Linked DNA regions of Homo sapiens: all the other regions are linked to region 1. The links are contacts of gene promoters, found by promoter capture Hi-C in blood cells and fetal thymus (Javierre and others, 2016). All regions are on one chromosome and are shown on one strand. Each heading gives the region's core, a stretch centred on a gene start or on the middle of the fragment in contact. The rest is flanking DNA. Distances are from core to core; before and after follow the strand shown. Region 1 holds the start of AKAP11 (A-kinase anchoring protein 11). Region 2 holds the start of ALG5 (ALG5 dolichyl-phosphate beta-glucosyltransferase). Region 3 holds the start of SUPT20H (SPT20 homolog, SAGA complex component).

Region 1 (2,965 bases), core at 212-2,711:
CCTGTCTCTGTTAAGCTGCTTTTTGTGTTTCTTTCTTTAACTCTTACAGTTTCCATCTCCAGGCTCAAGAAAGTTTACTTTCTCATTTCTTCTTCCCTCAAATGCACTAGAATAGATCCTTACTTAGGGCCTTTGAATTAGTGTTATCCTTTTCCTGGAATGCTCTATGCTCTGATTTTTGCGTCTGTTATTCAAATCGCTGCTAAAATATCTCCTCCTTAAAAGGGCATCCCCTTTACTAGCCACTCAGTCACCATCACCATCACGTCACTTATTGTAACTTCTTTGCATACAGCTTAAAACCAACAGATTTTTTTTCTTTTCACCCTCAGATAAGTTCCCTAGAATCTACACTACTTGTCTTCATCATTGTTCAATCAACAGCCTAGAGTAGTGTTTGTTGAATGAAGAAATGAACAAACGAATGCACCCTTTCTTCCGTGACCCTCTCCTCTGAACAGGGCAAAACTTAACTCATAACGAGGATACACTCAAAAATGTCTTTCTTATTGCCAGGTGTTTCCACTCTTGAGGAACAGATGCCCTTTAGGAGACAGGGCAATTTGACTGGACTGGCCCTTCCGATTTTAGGTGAAAATAATCACCATAACAGCTTTTCATCTCTGGCTAGGCTTCCCAGTGACCAAAGCTTTACTTTCCGATTTCCATACCACGTAAAGACATCAGGGTGAGCACTAGGGCCCTGAGAACCCTGGAAGCTACTTCTTGGCTGGGATAGGGCTGGTTGCCCGGTGCGCTGTGAGTGGTCCTCCCCGGAGATGCTGGGAGAAGGGGCGGAGCCATCAGAAAGGATGAGCCTTCCTTGGGCCTTCGGATCTGGTGGGGCTGCCACTTTGGGAAGGGCCCCGGGCTTCGGAAGAAAGCAAAACTAGCCTTGTGGCGAAGAAGGAGCCCAGCTGGCCCCAGGCTGTTAAGACTAAGGGGTCGAGGGAAAAGAGGCAGAGCCTGAAACCAAATCTGCGGAGCAAGCCAAGGCCTGGGGACTTGCCAGAGGGAAGGGTTAAGCCGTTTCCAAGGCAACGGACCAGGAAGCGCGCAAGACGTCCGCCGCAGGTTCGTAGGTCGCCCTCGAATTTAAAGCTCCCAAGGCTGAGTGGGTCCCGGCCAATGGAGAGGCCCCCTTTAAGTCATGTGACCAGCGGGGCTGCCCCGCGGGCTGCTCCGCGGGCTGCACTGGAGCACGTGGGAAGGCTTTTTTTCCTGTTCCTTCTTTCCCTTTTTAAACGCCCACCCACTTTTGCGCGGGCTCGGCCGCGGAATTTTTCTCGCGAGAGGCGCGCTGCCCTCTCGCGAGAGAGAGTGGGAGGCGTGGAGAGTAGGCGGTGTTGCGGGCCGGAGCTGCGGCGGCGGCGGCGGCGGCGGAAGCCGAGGGGTGGGCAGGGCGGGGGCGGGCCGCGGGGCTGGGAGGGGGAGGGCTGGGGGTCAGCGCGGGAGGGGGCCAGCTTGCTTGCCCGGCTCGCTCACGGGTCGTTGAGGCCGGTGACATGTCTGTGAGCTGCGGAGGCTGCGGCCCCCAGGTGAGCCGGGCGCCGACGTGCTCGCCGCGGAGGCTGCGTTTAGATGGGGTGGCGGCGGGTGTGCGGCCGGCATGGATGGAGCGGCCCGGCTCCGGCGCTCCAGCCCCTCCGCCTGCCGCTGGTCCCCCTTCTGGCTTCGGGGCCGCCCGAGAGCTGCGCCTTCGCATGGCGGAGGGAGGAGGGCGGGAGGAGCGCGGCCGAAGGAGGAAACTCACCGCACCGGGCCCAGAGTAGAGGGAGGTGCTGGGTCTCGAGACGCGTCTTCCTGGGGTCCCAAGTGTGGCGGTGGAGCTGCCGCCCCTTTTAATGACAGGCTGTTTCCATCCCCGGGGTGGTCTTCAGAGACGGCCCCCCGGGTGCGTGGTGCGCGTGCTTAGTGTGTGTTCGTGGTGTGCGCACAGGAACATTTGCAGCGGTTGGGAGGACGTTGCACTTTGTTCCCGAACAGCATCCTTCACTGTCAGACCCCCGGAGCCTTGGAAGCAGGCGCTGCTCAGATCTTGTAAACGGAAGGCGTCAAGGGGCTCCTCAGAGTATTGATATTTGGATTTGCTGTCAAATACTCTCCTAGGCTGTTAATGGCTTAAGGCTGGCCATAAAGTACCCCGAATGGATTGAGTATACTGCTGTTAATCCAGGCATCTAAGCTGCTTTATAAAAAATATGTAGATGTAACCGAAGTATTAAAAAGTGACAATGACAGTAAAAGCTAACATTTTTTCTCTTCCCCATATTACCAGCTTTCATTTTTTTTCTCTGCTTTGTCTGTCTTCTAAAACCATATAAAGTTGGATGTGGTTTAGCTTTAGATGTTAAGGAGTTTCATGGTGAGAAAGACTGCTGAGATACATACCTAATAGCTTTAGTACAAACTGGAGTTAATTCCTGTTCTCTTTTCAGCTTTTCAATCGCTTGCAAAATGCTCGTTTTGCTTAGCTGCTTCCCACTGTTTTAGAAATGTCATGTCGATTGTTATTTTGTTATGTCTGAAAATACTCAAAATATGGAGTACTAAGAAAAAATGGGGTATCAGTAATGCACAGATATATTTTTTTTAATGTCATCATTTTAGGATGGCAGCCCAGTGCCTGGCATGATTGGTGTCAGTTAAAATAGTGCAATTGAATGATTTTTTTTTTTTTTGAAAAACACATTTACTTTTTCAAACGGTACCCTGATTATTCATTTTTTCTTGTCGTTGTTCCTCCTGACAAAACTGACCCAGGGGTGGACAGTGAATGTCACTATTGTAGCTGTAACAGTAATTTATGAAAGGTCAAAGAATGTAAGGAAATCAGGGAAGAAGTGGGTTCCCAAGCTGAGCTAGAGACTAATGTATGTACCCACATAACTGCAGTATCGACAATATTGATAAGGGCCTAGCAGTGGACTCCTAGGCCAGTGATATTTTGCAGTTGTTGAGGATA
Region 2 (2,965 bases), core at 453-2,952, 5.3 Mb before region 1:
AAGTGAACTGAGGGGGCATTTGAAATCACAGAATAAATTTAAATCTGTGACCACTTTATTGTGGTATTTTAAAAAGAAGGACCTTATCTGTTAGAAATAAATGCTGAGGATTTAAAGATAAAATGTCTTCGAGTTGTTTTAAAATAATTCAGAAAGGAGGTGAGACTGTGAGTAATGGAGAGTGGATACATATGAAGACAGGATGAGGTTTTGAAAAATTATTTTTTTAATGATTTCTTGCTCTGGCATTTAAAAAACCTAAGTTTCACTAGTTGTGCAACATTTGAGTACACGAGCTCATTTCTCCAACATGTTTCCTCACCAGTAAAATAATGCTAATGATAACATATATGTCACAGTGTTAAAGATTTAATAACTCCTATTAAACCAAGTGCAACACAACATATAGTAAGTACTACAATCAATAAATGGTAGCTCTTATCACTTCAAGCTAGTGGGAACAAATACCGTCAGTACAATCCCATAAAATCTGTGCAAAAGACCCAAAGTAAGGCAGCTTCAATCTAAGAATGTGTGAATCCACTCCCCGCCCGCACCCCGCCAAAAATCAATCAATCAATCAATCAATCCTGGTTTGCTCAAAAACTTGAAAAAACAAAAAAGCCCTAAACCCTGAAATCTCTACTAGTTAGGGCAAGAGAGGACTCCTCTCTCACCCAGATACTATCAACAAAGAAGTAAGGATGCATTACATTTTATCTAAACTGTAAATTTATACAACCTCTGGAAAGATGGCAGAGTGGCCTTCCTGGCAGTGCTGTCTAGGTGGCTAATCTGAATGTCAAGGAAGCTGAAATCCTCTCCACTTACTAACTAGAGGGCAGGCTCATTCCAAGGTGTGCGGGAGAGAGTTCGCCAATTTTCTACCACTTAACAATCAGCAAGTGTTTACAATGTTTTTGTGTTTCGAGAGCAAGGGCAAAGACAATCGAGTTTGCATTCTATCGTCCTGCCTTGTTTAGGGGCAGTATATTTAGGGTGCTTAATTCTGGGACACAATGCGACCCCGGACAAGGCGCCTGAGGCCTGTCTCTCTCGCTCACCCTGCGTCCCTAGTGGGTCTCATCGATCCACGCATTTATTCCCATTTGTAACAGATGGCTGCCGTCAAGGCTCCGTCACCCCTATTTGCTTAACCACATCAGCCAAGGGAGCAGGCTAGGGAGCACACCCCTTCTGGGGGCTCGAGACCTCCCTGGGTGGAGCAGAACTGCAGCGGCTGCAGGTCCCGGAGAGTCTGGGAGAGGTCGAGGTTGACAGAGGAGGTGGGTAGGGGGCGCGGGCGCCAGGGGCGATGGAAGCGGCGATGATGCCAGGCCGGGTGGGTGCGCTCCAGTGTGAAAAAACTTACAAGTCTCTGAGCACACAAAGAGATAAGATTCCAAGGGAAAATTAAAGAACCGAAGAAAAGGAGAGTGAAACTCCAGGAAACTCCGAGGTCAGGAATTTGGGGGAATCTAGGGGAAAAGGGACTTCTCCGAGAACTGGTAGCGCGGAGGAGGGGACGCCTGAGGAGCCGCAGTCTCCAGGAGAGCGGTAAGCCCCGGCCTGCGCGGGTTCCCATCCCTGTTCTCACCAGTACGAGGGCTGCGGCCGCCAGCGCCGCGCCGAGCACCGCCAGCTGCAACAGAAGCGGAGCCATTCTCCATGCCGTGGCAGCCCGCCCAATCCCGCACCTCCACACAGGCGGAAGCGCGCCCGCGCGACCCGGCCCCGCCGCCAGAGAGGTCGCGCCCGCTGGCCGCAGCGCCCCCGCGTGGCGAGGCGGAGAAAACGCCGCTCTCGTGCCCTCGGCGCCCAGTCGGTGGAGAGGAGCGCTAGGTTCCACAGCGGGGCGCCAGGTTTATCAAGTATGCAAGACGTCTACTTAATTTGAATTTCAGATTAAAAAACTAATCATGTTTTTAACAGCCTTATTAAGATAGCCACATACCATACGACTCATCCAGTTACAGGTTTCTGGTTTATTACATTAGTTTTTATAAACTGTGGTAAAATAAAAAGTTGCCATTTTAATCATTTTAAGTTTACAATAGTGAGTGGCATTAATTACATACATACTGTGCAACCATCACCACTATCTATCTGTAAAGCCTTCCCAGCTCCCTCCAGGTTCTGGCAACAACTAATTGCATGCTCTATTTGGGGCATACTCATGCTTTAAAAAAAAAAAAACCCACAAAAAAACAAAAACAAAAAACAAAAAAACCACGCTGTGTTTATCAGACATTCAAATTTAACGTGGTATCCTGTATTTTATCTGGTAACCCCACCTAGGAGGGAGATGGCAGCCTTGAGCACGACACAGTCTACAACACAAGGTGATGCTTAGGAGCCCTCAGCTCCGGGACCTGCAGAGCAGAACGTGGTGCGGACAATGAGCGCACAGAAAGTTCAGGTTTCTCGGCCGAGCGCCGTGGCTCACGCCTGTAATCCCAGCACTTTGGGAGGACGAGGCGGGCGGATCACAAGGTCAGGAGATCGAGACCATCCTGGCTAACACGGTGAAACCCCGTCTGTACTAAAAATACAAAAAATTAGCGGGGCGCGGTGGCGGGCGTCTGTAGTTCCAGCTACTCGGGAGGCTGAGGCAGGAGAATGGCGTGAACCCGGGAGGCGGAGCTTGCAGTGAGCCGAGATCGCGCCACTGCACTCCAGCCTGGACGACAGAGCGAGACTCTGTCTCAAAAAAAAAAAAAAAAAAAGTTCAGGTTTCTCATGTGTTGGAGCACGGAGCCCTTGACCAGTGAAGAGGCAAGGCCAGGGCTGAGCCTAAGTCACAGGCAGAAAAAAGACGCAGAAACATTGGAATAACGCTCCACACGCACTGCTTGATTCTGCGCTAGAAACCCTGTTATCTCCGAACTGTTGGTGTTATTCTGAGTCACAGCACCAGCTCTTTTATAAAGAGGGAGACCCGCTCCTTCTTTAACAGCAGATTCGT
Region 3 (2,965 bases), core at 166-2,665, 5.2 Mb before region 1:
AAAAAATGGACTAACCTCCTAATACAACACAAACACAAGCACCATACAACTGTAAATGATTTACGATCATTTACAATGAGTAAGATATTACTCCTACCCTTGAAAAGCTCGTAGGAGGTTTAAGTTGAATTTAGGTGAACGTGAAAATTTTCTGACCACTGAATTTGAAGATGAAGATACACTATGTACTTTTCGGACAAAATGTGATGACTTTAAGATTTCTTGTCACTAAATTGGGGATGGGGGCTTACTAACTTTAAATTATTTAAGTACTTCAGACAAAAACTAATAACTTCATATCTCTCACAAAGCAAACATTCTGTCTATACACAGAATTTACTAGAACCTGTGAGGAAACTGTAATCATTATCATTTCCGTTTTACAGAATAAGGCAATCAGAACAACTGACTTTCCTAACATCACAGACCTAGATCAGAATTCAGAACTCTGTGTCCAATCTTAGGTCCCTTCCAATATTACAACCTGCAAACTAATCAAACCGGCATCTGTTTTTACATTTCTTTAAAAAAAGCAAAGCAATTAAAAAAAGGACCCAATTCTGCTCAGAGACGAATATGTATTTCTTAATTTGGATCTAACTTTATAACATGGTGATCAACCCAAGTACACTGTACTCGACTCCGAAAATCCTGCTCGTCACTTTATATTTTGAGTCCTACTAGAGACTTTGATGAATTGCACTCAAGAAGACGCGGCCCCCACTACGCAGTGGCTACGGGAGATGGCTTCCAGGGCAACTGTTCTCCAAGTTCATTTCTGAGCGCCGGGTAACCATGGCCAGTAATTAATCCAATTCTAAGCGTTGCTATCAATTCTACGCGTTGCTATCAATTCTACTGATTTCCCTGATCGACCAGAGTCTTCCCATTGCAGGAGCTTTTGTCACAACTTAGGCTTTACCTGTACAACCGTCATCTCCACAGAGGAGCGACAAGCCTTTATGCAATATGGACACCAAGAAAACCGCCTTCGAAGACACGCAAGGCAAAATTCTTGCCAGTGTCCGGAAATACCCGTCTCTGGAACCCAAAAGTCAAACTAAAATTAAAAGTTCGGCTTAGCAACACCGCGAAAGGCGATGTAGGCGTCCACCTGGAGTTTAGCTGCCTCAACCTCCGCCCCGGCCTGCCGGGTCTCTGGGGACCCCGTCTTCCTCCAGCGGGCTCTGGGATGCGGCCCGCTCACCTCTGACCCTGGCCGGATCTCGCGCGTCTAAGCCACCGCGTTGCCAGTCGCTGGCCACCCACCTACCGCCACCGCCCACCTGTGCGGGTCGCCTCGCCGCTAGGCCCCAAGACGGCGCCGCCTGCTCGGCAGCAAAGCCCACCCGCCCCGTCGGCGGCTCAGTGCTGCACCCCCACCAACAGCCAGTTCCGGCGGCCGCACTTCCGATTGGCAGGCTGGGCCGAGGGGCGGGGAAGGCGGGCGGAAGGGGAGGAGCCGGGAGGGCGGGGCCGCTGCCAGGAGCCTGGAGCGCTGCGTTCCGCGCAGGACGCCGGTGAGGCCCGCAGAGACTTGCGTCCGGGCGGGAGGCGGGGCCCAGGATCTCTGCTCAATCCTGGAGTCCGAGTCCGCAAAGTGGGAGGGAGGGTGTAGATGTGAATTTGGGGAAAAACGACCCTGTTGAATTTCTAGAGTGGAAGAAACATAGAACTAGCTTTTCTCTTTGCTTAGCACATACAAATGGAAAAACAGCGACACCGTTACCTACATTTACTAGTCCAATGCGTACAACCTTCTGTAGTATATCAACTGCCAATGAGTTTATGTTTTTAAAAAAACCACCCCAGAGAAGGGTTCTAAAAATTCAGAAACCGCATTACTAGCACACATTGTAAGGTCTGTTTTGTTTTGTTTGTTCGTTTGTTTTTCAGACAGAGTCTCGCTCTGTCGCCCAGGCTGGAGTGGAGTGGAGAAATCTCAGCTAACTGCAACCTTTGCCTCCTGGGTTCAAGCGATTCTCCCTGCCTCAGTCTCCGGAGTAGCTGGGATTATAGGCGTGCACCACCACACCCGGCTAATTTTTGTATTTTTAGTAGAGACTGTTTCACTATGTTGGGCAGGCTGCTCTTGAACTCCTCATCTCAAGTGATCCACCCGCCTTGGCCTCCCAAAGTGCTGGGATTACAGGCGTGAGCCATCATGCACGGCCTGGGGTGAATCTTTTTAATGAGCATTTATTATTTGCCGTTCACAATGCCAAGGGTCATAATGAATGAAAGTGTCTTGGAATTAGAGTTAGTGGTTGCACACATTATAAGTGTATTAAAGTACACTCCAAAATAAAATCCGAACACATTAAGTGGTTACTCCCATTCCTCCCTCTCTCAGCCCCTGGCAAATGCCAATCAGCTTTCAAACTGTGGTACCTATTACGGATATTTCATATAAATGGAATGTGTGACCTTTTGGTCTGTCTTCGTAGCATAATCTTTTGCAGGTTCACCTTGTACACCTTGTTGCATGTATCGGTACTTCATGTCTCTTTATGGCTACTATTCCACTGTACCTAGATGCCACAGTTTTACCTGTCCATCCACTGATGGACATTTGGGTTGTTTCCACTTTCGGGCTATTGTGAATAGCAATGATATGAACATTTGTATACAAGTATTTGTTCGAGTCCCTGTTTTCAATTCTTTTGGGTATAAACATAGTGGAACTTCTGGGTCTTATAGTAATTCTACGTGAAAATATTTGAGGAACCCATAAACAAATGTTTCTACAGCAGCTGAACCATTCATTTTACATACCAAGAGCATTGTCGGGGGATTCCAATTTCTCCACATCCTCACTAACACCATAATTTTCTATTCCTTTGATAGTAACCATCCCAAAGGGTATAAAGTGGTATTTTATTGTGGGTTTGATTTGCATTCCCTAATGGCTAGTTATCTTGAGCATCTTTTCATGCCCTTGTTAGCCATTTGTATATCTTCTTTG

What was found. The method cuts DNA at HindIII sites, captures the fragments that hold promoters and counts their contacts. A CHiCAGO score of 5 or more calls a contact.
Region 2: the fragment with the promoter of ALG5 here is called in contact with the fragment with the promoter of AKAP11 in region 1 in 1 of 17 cell types (total CD8 T cells); the score reaches 7.3 in total CD8 T cells.
Region 3: the fragment with the promoter of SUPT20H here is called in contact with the fragment with the promoter of AKAP11 in region 1 in 2 of 17 cell types (total B cells and total CD8 T cells); the score reaches 10.9 in total B cells.

Annotation. Positions count from the first base shown.
Region 1 is chr13:42,270,691-42,273,655 of GRCh38, forward strand. AKAP11 (A-kinase anchoring protein 11) reads left to right here and starts at 1,462. Exons shown (of 13, transcript NM_016248.4): 1 at 1,462-1,538. RefSeq lists an enhancer at 652-831 and a silencer at 1,372-1,721. The HindIII fragment of the contact is 2,900 bases long and covers 648-2,965 here.
Region 2 is chr13:36,997,638-37,000,602 of GRCh38, forward strand. It overlaps ALG5 (ALG5 dolichyl-phosphate beta-glucosyltransferase), which reads right to left and starts at 1,703. Exons shown (of 10, transcript NM_013338.5): 1 at 1,598-1,703. The coding sequence starts at 1,663. RefSeq lists a silencer at 1,619-1,918 and enhancers at 2,379-2,428, 2,889-2,965. The HindIII fragment of the contact is 11,758 bases long and covers 1-2,965 here.
Region 3 is chr13:37,058,273-37,061,237 of GRCh38, forward strand. SUPT20H (SPT20 homolog, SAGA complex component) reads right to left here and starts at 1,416. Exons shown (of 26, transcript NM_001014286.3): 1 at 1,287-1,416. RefSeq lists a silencer at 1,328-1,587. The HindIII fragment of the contact is 8,647 bases long and covers 1-2,965 here.